2 separate regions of the Homo sapiens genome follow, and region 1 is linked to region 2. The links are contacts of gene promoters, found by promoter capture Hi-C in blood cells and fetal thymus (Javierre and others, 2016). All regions are on one chromosome and are shown on one strand. The core of a region is centred on a gene start or on the middle of the fragment in contact, and the rest is flanking DNA. Distances in the headings are between cores, read along the strand shown. Region 1 has its middle 110 kb from the start of CFAP95. Region 2 holds the start of APBA1 (amyloid beta precursor protein binding family A member 1).

The links. Contacts are between HindIII fragments. The CHiCAGO score rates a contact against its expected background, and 5 or more counts as called.
Region 1: a fragment that was not itself captured here is called in contact with the fragment with the promoter of APBA1 in region 2 in 1 of 17 cell types (endothelial precursors); the score reaches 6.9 in endothelial precursors.

The regions. Positions count from the first base shown.
Region 1 is chr9:69,923,856-69,930,086 of GRCh38, forward strand. No RefSeq gene overlaps it. Among named protein-coding and RNA genes, the nearest start is that of CFAP95, 110 kb to the left of the region's middle. RefSeq lists an enhancer at 52-782. The HindIII fragment of the contact is 3,216 bases long and covers 2,908-6,123 here.
Region 2 is chr9:69,671,012-69,677,073 of GRCh38, forward strand. APBA1 (amyloid beta precursor protein binding family A member 1) reads right to left here and starts at 1,360. Exons shown (of 13, transcript NM_001163.4): 1 at 1,142-1,360. RefSeq lists silencers at 1,128-1,207, 1,388-1,437. The HindIII fragment of the contact is 15,920 bases long and covers 1-6,062 here.

The DNA.
Region 1 (6,231 bases), core at 3,266-5,765, 260 kb after region 2:
CCCCCACTTATGGAGTAGAGACTGTACCTTGGACAGGCACATTAAAAGAATTGGGGCCCCAGTCACCCTTGCTGCAGTTCATGAGTTGGTGGTTCCTTGCCACCAAAAACAATCTCAGGCTGTGGCATTTGCTCTCCACCAAGCACTCAGATCCTGGAGCACAGCTGTCACTCAGAAAGCAACTTGTCTTTGTCTTCACCCCCAGCTCTAGAACCCTGGCTTAGAGATTTTGCCTGGGGAAAGAAGCAAGCTATAAAACAACTCTCAATGTCTTCGAAAGGAAACTGACTTCATTTGCAACACACTGTGGAGAAGCCCAAGCCAAAGGGCACTCTCAAGAGCAGTGGAGAGACTGTGGTGAAAGGCACTTGGGAGGCACATTTGTGAAGTTAATGAAGATAGAGCCTAGACTGTGGGTTGCCTAGGAGAGAACCAGAGAGAACCAGAATATGACAGCTGGAAGGAGCCCTCATAGGGTGAAAACAATTATCAAGCACTGACCACAGAAATCATTCCTTCAAAGGGACCACAATTTGGGGTGAATTCGTTTGTAAAGCTATTTATGCCCCCAGGGTACTTTTTAAAACAATAATGCAATCAGCCAGCAATTAGTGGAGTTCAATAGCTGGGTGTGGTCAGGGAAGGAAAGAAAAAGAGTCCTACCAATCCTATTATCATCCCAGGGTTACTGTAGCCATCCCCAAAGCCATGCCTCCCTGAGGAGCAACATTGGAGGCTTAACAATGTGTGTGTGTGTGTGTGTGTGTGTGTGTGTGTGTGTGTGCGCGCGCGCATGTGTGTTCACATAAAACTTCACTAAAATAACCCAGCTGGTTAAGAAAAAAAAAAAGCAAGCAAATAATAATAATAGCCCAGGAGAGGGAAGTCTAGTGTTCAGAATTGCTACAGTATATGACATAGTTTGGATGTTTGTCCCCTCCAAATCTTATGTTAACACTTGATCCCCAATGTTGTTGGAGTTTTGGCCTAGTGGGAGGTTCTTGGGTGATGGGGGTAGATCCCTCGTGAATGGCATGGTCACTTTCTCTTTGTAATGAGTGGGTTATCGCTCTGTTAGTTCATTTAAGAACTGATAGTTGAAAAGAACCATACCCTTCTCTCACCTCTTCCTTTCTCATGTGTGACATGCCTTCTTCCCCTTCCTGAGGCCCTAACCAGAAGTAGATGCTCATGCCATGCTTCTTATACAGCCTGCAGAATGGTGAGCCAAATAAACCTCTTTTCTTTATAAATTACCCACCCTCAGGTATTCCTTTAGAGTAATGCAAATGAACTAATACAATATATTATCTAAAATGTCCCATTTCCAACAAAAAATTATGCAAAGAAACAGGAAAGCATGATCCATACGCAGGAAAAAAGCAGGCAACACAAACTGCCTATGAGAGCAACCAGATGTCATATTTAACAGGAAAGTATTTCAAAATAGCCACCAAAAATGTTGGAGATAAATGCTCGGTGCCGCAAAGTGAAACCAGCACTCAGGCAAAAGTTTTTGCAGCAAGGCAACTTACTTCTGCAGAAGGGTGCTACTCGCATCAATCACAATTGCAAGAGCACACTGAATAAAGGAAAGCAGGGGTTTTTATTCGTAATGCAATCCCTACATCTGTGTCACTCCCCCATGGGCTGGGGTCAGACTGCACAATCTAAACTGACCTGATGGGCTATTTGTGAATATTTTCCCAAATAAGGAAGGGAAGGGGAATGTGAGGTACAGTGGTAGGACATGCAGTTTCAGTGGGAGGAATTGGTGTAGAGCAGGTAGCCAAGGGAACAGATGTGAAGTTATTGATTAGAACTGACGGGAAGGTTGTTTACAGTAACTAGGGACAAGGAGGCATGGAGAACAAGAAAGTTGAGTTTGAGAACAAAGAACAAGGAAGTTAACAAGCTAAACATGTGAAGAGGAATAAATTTATTGTATCCTACAATTTCCCCCCTCTTAATTTTTATAGTCCTTCCTCTTCAGACCTTTTTAAGATGTCTTGGCTTTGCTGTTCGACTTCATCCTCTAAAAGGAACAACTTATCTGAATAAGGTGGAGGAGAGCTAAGGGAGGCTTTAGTAAGTACTGTTTCTATAAGCCTTTGTACTAGCCCATGGATGCATGGTATGACACAACACCCAACAAGAATGAGTACACCTATTATGGCTGCAAGAGAAGTAAGCACTGAGGCTGTGATTCCTTTCCATTTACCAAATCACCTTTCTAGCTAGCCATGCTTAGAAAGGGTTATCAACTCTAGAATTTTTAGCTAATTCATTGGATAAAGAGGTAAGTCTCTGTAAGGCCTTGTTATGTTCCCATTGGGGGCAGTATTGTTTGGGATGAAGGTACAACATTGAGTTTTAATTATAATGCAAACTCCACCTTTTTCAGCTAACATCATGTCTAGGGCCATTCTGTTTTCCCAAACCATCTGGCTAGTAGGCCCTAACTGGTCAGCTATTACTTTGATGGCATCTCTAGTGTAATTAATAAATCATTGCTGTTTATAATAGATGTAATTTATCCAATTTACATTTTTATTAATAGTTACTCATGGAAATACTGATTCAAATCCTGCAGCTATTTGGTCTGGGCTTTGAATTTATCAGGTACTCCCCGTGGGACTCTAATTGCATCTAAATAAACTTGAGAGTCAAAAGACCCATAAGGGGCTTCTCTTATTTTATGGTGTTGCATTTTTTCTTTTTCTGGTTGATGAAATGCCAGGGTGAAAGGGATAGCCAATTAGACAAGAGCATAAGTACCACTCCAGTTACTTGACAGAGTGTCCAGTAAGGGTCTGCCACAATACCACCACACATCTGCTCGAGGATGGCTAAGGGCAGACTGATGGGTAAGCTTCTAGAAGGGCTTAAGCTCACTGCATCCTGTTAAGCTTCCAAGGAATGCCAAGTTTTCCCCTTGTTGTGAGAGACACAAGGTGAAATTGACGTTGGGAGATGGAAGCTGGATGGCCTTCGGGGGCTGACCCGCAGGGTGTTGGATTTCAGGATAGAGCAGAAAGAGAGCTTGGCATTATTTATTGTCCCAAGCTGTAGAATCCTGGAAGAGAGCTATCATGCAGCCCATGCCTGGTTGACTAGCGGACCATCCAAGTGGAAAGAGGACAATCTGGGCCTCTGGCTGGCCGTGCACACAAGCATAACAATTGCTTTTGTTTAACATGTGGACAGAATATTTGATCCATTCCAACCAGGAATTTGCATCTTGATATCCTGTTTCAATTGCTAAAGTTTGCCTTAAATCATTTACTTCTACAATATCTACCTTAGTCTTATCATTGGGTATAGAGGGGATAGCAGTTTGATTAGAAGAAGGCTTAGAAGGAGAAGAGAGGAAAGGGGGTGAAGAGGATGAGGGATTAATAAAATGCATTTCAAAAGTCCCTATGAGGTCTGTGCCAGCCAAGTTGGCTCCCATGCTGTAGAAGCGGCTCAAAGTAGGTCTAGGGTCGGTAGAGGTGGAAGTGAGAATTGAAATTTGCACTGGATTACATTGGTTATACTGGCAATTGGGGTTGGAGGTGCTTTCTTTAGTAAAGTGAATGTATGGTTTTAAGGATACACAACCACCTGTCAATGAGGTCTAGCCTTGATATTTGGTTGTCCACAGAACATCATTCCTGCTATGGCAGACCTGTTTCTCTATATTTGTTAAAGAGCAAGAGTCTTGGTAGGGGGAACCTCTATTTTAAAGGGGCAGAGATACTTTTCTAAGGCTAAGAGTTTCCTTTGACTTTGAAGATCTCTACAGGGTATGACTAAACAAGCATCAAACGTAATAACTTTGGGGGAGTTTGATTTAGTTACATTGATAACAAGGTGGTCAGCAATAGAATGAGAAAAGAAGAAAGAGTAATAGAATAGATGAAAGAGAGTTAAACTTAGCTTTAGTTTGAGGGGGTTTTCCCCTGGGACAATGGCCCATGACTGCGGAGGTGGTGGTGCTTTCTTGACTCAGGTGTGATGGGTCCATCCTTTTTCTGCTATCAGGACTGTGGTTCCAGTGGTTAGAAGCACTTAGGTGAAGTCCTTCCCAGGACAGCTCAAGTTTTTCTTCTTTCTAGCTTTTGATGAGGACATGATCCCCAGGCTGATGTTGATGTACTGGGAACTCCAGGGGCGGCGCCTGTGCTAGGAGACCTTTGGTTTTTAAAAAAAGAGAAAGTAGAGGAGAGACCAAGTATATAATTCCTGAGGAATTGATCTTTTGTTTCAAATGTAGGAATGCCAGCAGTGGAGTGTAAATAAGGCAATTAGAGCATCTCATAAGGAGAAAGGCCAATATCTTTCCAAGGAGCAGCTCAGATTCTTAAAAGGCAATAAGAAGACATTTGGTCCATGGCAACTGAGTCTCTAGAACTAATTTGGTTATGTGGTTCTTTAAGGTCTAATTCATCCTTTCTATTCTTCTTGAGGAAGGTGGGTGCCAAGGAGTATGATATTCCCATCTAATGTCTAGGGCTTGGGATAGCTTTTTAATGATATGTGCTATGAAATGGGTTCCATTGTCTGAATCAATATTTTCTATTGGTCCAAACCTGGGCACTATCTTTTCAGTTAATGCTTTAACTACATTATTGGCCATTGCATTTGAAAAGGGAATAGCTTCAACTCAATGAGTAAGGTGATCTGCTGTTACTAATAAGTACTTTAGGCGACCGATTGGGGGCATTTCAGTGTAGTCAATTTGAACACTTTGGAATGGTCTTAGCCCTGGATCCCTCCCCGCAAGGGGCGATTTCTTTGTAACTTGTTTGTTGGGTTTTTTTTTTTTACATATGAAGCAACTATCTTTAATCTGTTTGGCTACAGTATAAGTTCCTGAACACCCATAAACCCTGAGAACTGCATCACACATAGCTTGGGGTCCCCAGTGGGTCCCTTGATGCAGATGGGACAGGATTTCCTTCATGACGAGTTTGGATAGTATTTCTCATTGATCTGGTAACACCCATTTTCCTTCTGAGTTTTCTTTGGCTCCTATTCTTATTAATTTTTCCTTTTCTGCAGCAGAGAAGATAGAGGTTGCAGCAGGGGGAGGAAGACAAGGAGTTAAGTGAAAGATAGGTGTTTCAGATGAAACAGCAGCCTGCTTAGCTGCTTGATTTGCAAGGTTATTTCCCCAACTTGTAAAGGAAAAGTCTTTTTAGTGTCTGGGGACATGTACAATGGCTATTTCTTCTGGCAACTGGAGATTGTTTAAAACATGGATGATTAGCTCTTCATGGGCAAGATTTTGGCCTTTAAAATTAATAAGAGGTTTCTCAGGCCAAATTTTTCCAAATGTATGTGCTACTCCAAAGGCATACTTAGAATCAGTATAAATAGTTTCTTCCTTGTTCTGTAAGTGTTTTAAAGCCTGGCTGAGGGCAAATGGTTCACAAACTTGGGCAGATCAACTATTGGGCAACCTTCCTGACTCTATTTCTTCAAGAGTTTCTCTATCAATTACTGAATACCCATTATGCCTTTCTCCTTTAATTACTTGGGAGGAACCATCTATAAATAAGCATCGCCCCATTTTGAAAGGGGTCTCTCCTAGATCTGGCCTGACCTTCATTTGGTAGTCAATTAAATCTAAACATAGGTGTTCTCTTTTTAGATTTGGGTCTCCTGTCAAGAAACCTGCTGGGTTGAGTGAATTATCAGTAGTTAAGGTTAAATTCATCTTTTTTCTAGTAGAATAGCCTCATATTTTAATTTTTCAAGATTCAATTTCAGTATTTCAAGATTCTGGAGTCAGTGAGCACCTTCCTGCTTTTTTATTTAAAGTAGCTCTAACTTGGTGGGGTGTGCTTACAGTTAATTTTCCCCCAAAGGTTAATTTTCTGGTTTCTTCAACTAATACTTCTGTAGCTGCAACAGATTGAAAACATTGAGGCCATCTACAGGTATTGGGTGTAAAACTTTTGATAGGAAGGCTATGGGCTGCCAGCGGCCACTGGGTTCTTGAGTGAGCACCCCTAAAGCTACCCTGTTATTTATGTTAACAAAAAGATGAAATGGCTTTTCTAGGGAAGGTAAGGCTAAAAAACCTGATCGGCTTCCTCAGAAGTCCACAGGAGATGGTCCAGCTTCCACTAGGTAAGCTTTTCATATAAAAGTTTACTTTTTAGGGCATATGAGTCAATCCATAAGCAGCAGTATCCAACTAATCCTAAAAATGTTCTGAGTCCTTGCTTAGTTTGAGGCAGG
Region 2 (6,062 bases), core at 110-2,609:
TTTTTAAAAGACCGCCCCCCGCCCCACCGCATCTCTCTATACGTATACACCTCCAGAGTTCATTCTAAAAGAACCAACACAAAGACCATCCATCCTCTAGCCATAAGGTTTTCAGTGCTTAAATGTGGAAGGAGAAGGTCTAGCTAGCATTGAAAGTTGTGGGGACAGGAAGAGGAATCTGATCATTCAACATCCTTCTCCTTCTGGTCAGACAAGAGAAAAACAATAGAAACTGCACAGTCAGGGAGTACAAGACCCTTATGGAACAGGTGCTAAGGAGAGAAGTAGTATCACAGGATGGAAGGCCCCTTCAAAACCAGGTACATTAGCAAGCCCAGAATGTGTAACGGTTATCCTATTTCCCTGCCATGTGCCTCAAAGCAACATGCTCACTTCCACATCCCCATGTCATGAGGCCAGAGGAAGGGGAAGCGAGAATCCCTACACTGGGCCATCCACACGCAGGAGCAGAACAGACACTGTGCTCAGAGTTGCAGGGTCAAAATAACAAACACTGTCCCACAGTCTTAGCCGGTGACATCAAGTAAGGGCAGCGGCAGATCTCTGGATTTGGGGCGCAGTTTGGGGAACGTGGATGCAACCACACGCGTACACACACATATACAGGATTTTACAAACCGGCCCCTATCCCACTGCCTCCCTCCACACTTCACACACCAAGTGCATCCTGCCCACCTCACCGTTTCCATCATCACATTCTTTCTCCAGGAGAGTCAGCCGAGAGATGAGGGGGTCCTAGCGGGGATTCCTGGAAATGTCACCCCCCAACACCTCCGTCCGCCACCCCATCCCCTCTGCTGTACCTTTTACACACACACTCTCACACACTCACTCCTGCCATGACTGTCATCAGGCCCGCCTGCTGCGCCCGAAGCCCGGCATCTCAGCGGGCACCGGACCCCAGGCGTCTCGCTCGCAACGCCGCCTTCCCCCGCCTCGCTAGCTGATGGTTCCAGGCACTGCCTCCTGGATGTCGCCTGCTGCCTCCGCTCCTCCGCACTATTGTTCCAGGCAGCCCCTCTCGCGTCCGGGGGCGCCCTTTGGCGAGGACCCGGGCTCCGTCGGGGGCCGCATCAGCGCCGGGCACCCCTTCTCACCCACCCCTCCCTGGCTGTGGTACCTTGCCTGACAGCTGGGTCCGCGGGCCCGCGGGAGCAGGCGGCGCTAGTGACAGCGCTGGTGCCAAGCCTGGGAATAAAGCTCCGCTCCAGCCGCTGCTGCCTCCAGCGCCACCATCTTCTCCCGCCGCAGCTGCCGCCGCCGCCGCCGCCGCCGGGACCGCAGCCGCCCTCGCCCAGCTCCGGCTCCGCAGCCGCTGCTCGGACCCCTCCGGTCTCGCGGCCCCACCCCCTTTCCCCACCCTCCCTCCCGCCCTCCAGCTAGCTCGCTGGCCCCTCGTGACGCGCGCTGGGGCCGGGCGGGCCTGCGAGGGAGGGCGCGGGGGAGCGCGCGCGCGCACGCCGCCTGCTAGTAGCGCCCCTGCCTCCCTCGCCCACTCGCGTGCGCGCGCGGCCCGCGAGCCCGCGGCGGCGGCGGCGGCACCGCTGATGTCCTCCGTGGGCCGCCGGCTGCAGCGCCCCTGCCCCGGCGCCGGTGGGCGTGCGGCACACCCGCGCCTCTCGCCTTCCCTCGCGTCCGGGTTCCGAAGGGCCCGCCCTGCCTTTCGGAATGGGTTCCACAGCCCCATCCTCTGGCTCCCGGCCGGACGCAAGGAGGGGAAAATGCAGCTGCATCCCCGAGGGGACTGACGGGGGCCTCCACCCTCCTCGGTGGCAACCCAGGTGGTCCCCAGTTTCCTAGCCAGCAGCTGTGGCCAACCTCTGCGCGAAGCAACGGGCCACGCTGCAGGACCACGAAGCCAGGCAGCCGCGTCGACTCCTGCAGGGTGTTCTCTCCGGAGTGACTCCCGAGCTTTCCCGCTTCCCAGGCCCCTTAGATATCGCCTGCGCTTCAAATTCGGAGATTGACGGCGTCTCCGGAATGCGTCGCAGTCCTGCGAGTTCTCCGCCAGGGGGAGAGCCGCGCGGGCTTGGGCCTGAGCGAAGACAGCCGGGCTGCAGCCCTCCAGGGGAACTGCCGAGTCCCGCCGGGGACAGCGGAGAGCCTGCGGATTGTGAAGCCGAGGAAGGCTCGGCTTGGTTTTCCTACCCGCTCCTCAGTTCTGGTTGATCGGAACTTAAGTGTCTTTGAGCCTAGCACAGGCCATCCGCCCTAGATATGGCTCCTAACTCGAGAGGCCACCCTTTGCGGCAGGGACCAGGTGGCAAGTGCTGTGCATTAATGAAAAGCTGTGGGCTAGACAGGCCCCGGGAGGCCTGGGCTCTGGCGCCAGCCCCACCTGTAATTGGCAATGCAATAGCTAAATCATTCCCCCTCTTAGAAACACAGATTTTTCCATAATAATGTTATAATGCACAAAGCCTTGTAGTTTGCAAAGCCCTCTCCGCACATGTATTCTCCAGTAAAATGAAGATAAGCGCTGGTTATCCAGATCCCTTGGGAAATGGATCTTTTACCACACCGTGTTTCCATATTATTTTAAGCACGTCTCTAGAGAAGTCTGGGGGTGTAGCCTAAAGCATTCTGAAAGTCTTGTTTTAGCTTTAAAATTCATATGAATTTTGCATTGTACTTTGTAATTTTTTTTTGCTTTAATAAAACAATAGCTACCTTCTCAAAAAGATTTTAGTAAAATTTAAAATTATATACTAGGAAGATGTCTGCTTGTCCTGTGACATTACTCATATTTTTTCCGGTGAATACTTATTTGGCATATGTACGAGCCAGACATGGTCCTTTTCCACCAGAGCTCACAGTACGCTGAAGGAAATAGGTATTCAACTATCAGACTGGCCAGGCGCGGTGGCTCACGCCTGTAATCCCAGCACTTTGGGAGGCTGAGTCCAGCAGATCACTTTAGGCCAAAAGTTTGAGATCAGCCTGGTCAACATGGCGAAACCCTGTCTCTACTAAAAACACAAAAATTAGCCGGGCGTGTTGGTGCACGCCTGTAATCCTAGCTACTCGGGAAGCTGAGGCACGAGAATGCTTGAACCGGGAGGCGGAGGTTGCAGTGAGCCGAGATCGCGCTACTGCACTCCAGCCTTGGTGTCTCAAAAAACAAACAAACAAATAAAACAATCAGACTAAGTGCAACTGTGATAAATTCTCAACTGCAAAGGCGCTAAGGTGCACGGGAAAACCTAATGTGGACTCTGGGACTAGGTAAGGCTTTCTAAGGAAATGACATTTCAGATCCCCCAGGAGAGGCAGCATTGAGACACTTCCAGGTAAAGGGAAGGAAATGTGAAAAGGCCCAAGCAGGTGGGGCCGAAGTGAGATGAGACTGGAGAGGCAGGCAGACTTTGTGGACCGTTTTTAAATAATGATTTTGTCTTATGAGCCTGGAAAGTCAATGAAGGGTTGCCAAGAGTTGGGAGCAGGCAAGCAGGATCACATTTCCGTTCCTGAAAGATGGCTGAGGTGGTTTGTGAGGAACTGATTCGTGGAGGGTCAGGATCCAGGGCGGAGAGAGTCTGAGCTTATCCTACTTAGTGAGTGTTTAGGGTTTTCTGTTTTTGCACTAACTGCTCTTTTGATTGTTTTTAGTTCTTGCCTCTGCTCTCCTGTGTACGCATCTAGGAGGCTTTCAGAGTGCTTCTCTGTAATAGTTTCTGTTTTGTTACTTTTAATCCACTGCAGTTTTAGGAAGGAAATGAACCCTGTTAGAATTTCAGGTTAAATAAGAGAATATAGGTTCTGAGTGAGAGGCTCTTTTCTGTGCATACACTTATTGCCATTTGGTTTGCTATCTCAGAGATCTTTCTGCTTATTTTCTACTTTTTGTGTTGCCTTTCCAGTTAGACTAGGTTCTTAGATGCATGAATAAGGGTTACATTATTGCTTTAATAATATCCTGGAATCTTACCTCGCAGGATTTTTGTGTAAAGAAAGTTATGTGAAATTTCTCTGCAAAGTATTCAGTGCCATATAAAGAAAGGTAATAATTGTTAGTTATAATGGTAGCTTAGAGACCTCCAAAACTAATTACTTACCAAATGTTCATATGTGGAAATTTCCCTCCCTCCCCCACCCCCATGAAAAACACATATTCCTATTTCTTCTGGATAGCATGAATCATTGTCTTAAGTGCTCTTGTTACTCTGTGCCTTCGCTGGCAGGAAACTCAAAGCCAAATTTTCAGATCATTGTAGGAAATGAGTGGATCCATATGGCATGTAGATCCATGTCTTAATCCCTCCTTTGGTCTTGTTCTATTCTATTTATAGATTTCCTGTGCCTGCTTTATTGATGTTTTTCTTTTTAGTAGATCTCTTATAAGGCACTCCAATCCACCACTCCAATCCACCTTCTCCTGTTAACAGGGTCGAAACTGCTATTCAAGTGTTTCAGGAAGCAGTATATAAAATACTGGCAGCCAGGCATGGTGGCTCATGCCTGTAATCCCAGCACTTTGGGAGGCCAACGTGGGAGGATTGCTGGGGAGTTCAAGACCAGCTTGGGCAACATAGTAAGACCCCCGTCTCTCAAAAAAAAAAAAAAATTAGTGGGCATGGTGGCGAATTCCTGCAGTCCTAGCTACTTGGGAGGCTGAGATGGGAGGATTGCTTTAATCCAGGAGGTTGAGGCTGCAGTAAGCTATAATTGTGCCATAGCATTTCTGCCTGGGTGATAGAGCAAGACCATGTCACTAAAAATAAAACACTGGCAACCTGCCAACCATTGAAGCAGGTAACAATAGTATAGACACTGTGCCAAGTGACTTGGGTTTAAAGTAAAGCCTTAACCACCACTGCATGTGCACCTAAAGTCTCCGTGCATGCCAGTATAAAACCTCATATTATTGGCAAACTTAAGTATGTCTCCCAATGGCTCATAGATAATCTCCTTTAGTTTAATCTCTGAGGTCCCAAACTCCATCAGCCTACACTATACCAATACAGACGGTTCCTGTCTTATGATGGTTCGACTTAGAAGTTTTTGACCTTACTTTTGGGCTTATCAGGGTATTAATTTTTTTTTTTGTCAGTGCCTCACTCTGTTGCCCAGGCTGGAGTACAGTGGTGCAGTCTTGGGTCACTGCAACCTCTGCCTCCCGGGTTCAAGCGATTCTCCTGCCTCAGCCTCCCTAGTAGCTGGGACTATAGGCGCCCACCACCATGCCCGGCTAATTTTTGTATTTTTAGTAGAGACAGGGTTTCACCATTTTGGCCAGGCTGGTCTCAAACTCCTGACTTCAAGTGATCCACCCGCCCTGGCCTCCCAAAGTGCTGGGATTACAGGCGTGAGCCACTGTGCTTGGCCTTAAATGCATTTTTGACTTATGTAACCCCACCATAAGTCAAGGAGTATCTGTATATGTTACCGTCACAAGCACTGTTGGTCACTTGGTAAAAGGACAGAGATTCAAAAACTTTTATTCATTTAGGGTTATTTTTATCAACAAAGACTTGAAGATTCCATGATTCACTACATCCATTCAAACTCTGCAAGAGTGTGACCATATCTTCCAGCTTTTGATATGGTTCTGGATAGCTTAAATTAGACATCCTTCTTCTGACATAAGTTGATACTTTTCCTTGATTTCAAGTTCTTTAGTGATTACCCTCTTTCTGTATCAGTCCTTGAGTTTATGAGCTGAGGTTGTATGTAAGACAAGCATAGAACAACCTTCGGTAATCTGGTTTCTCTTGAGGATTTCAGTTCTGCTAATATTTAATAATCCAGCATAATTCCTAACATATTGTATAGCCTTTTTGGTCACAGGATTTAAAGTGTATGAAAGAAATACACAATTATGACATGTATGTATCATAAACTTCAATAAATTTGCTTGTATATACAGATGCTTATTTCACCAGCTTTTTCTCTGGGCATGAAATCTGTCCAGAGAAATAATGCCCTTCTTTTCTTTTTTATTCTGCAAACAAGGTCAGGCTCCTTCTCTTTTTCTCCCACTGTGCCCTTTAATGAGTCCAACCAGAATTTTGTACTATGTGTTTATCTGATACATTGGAAGA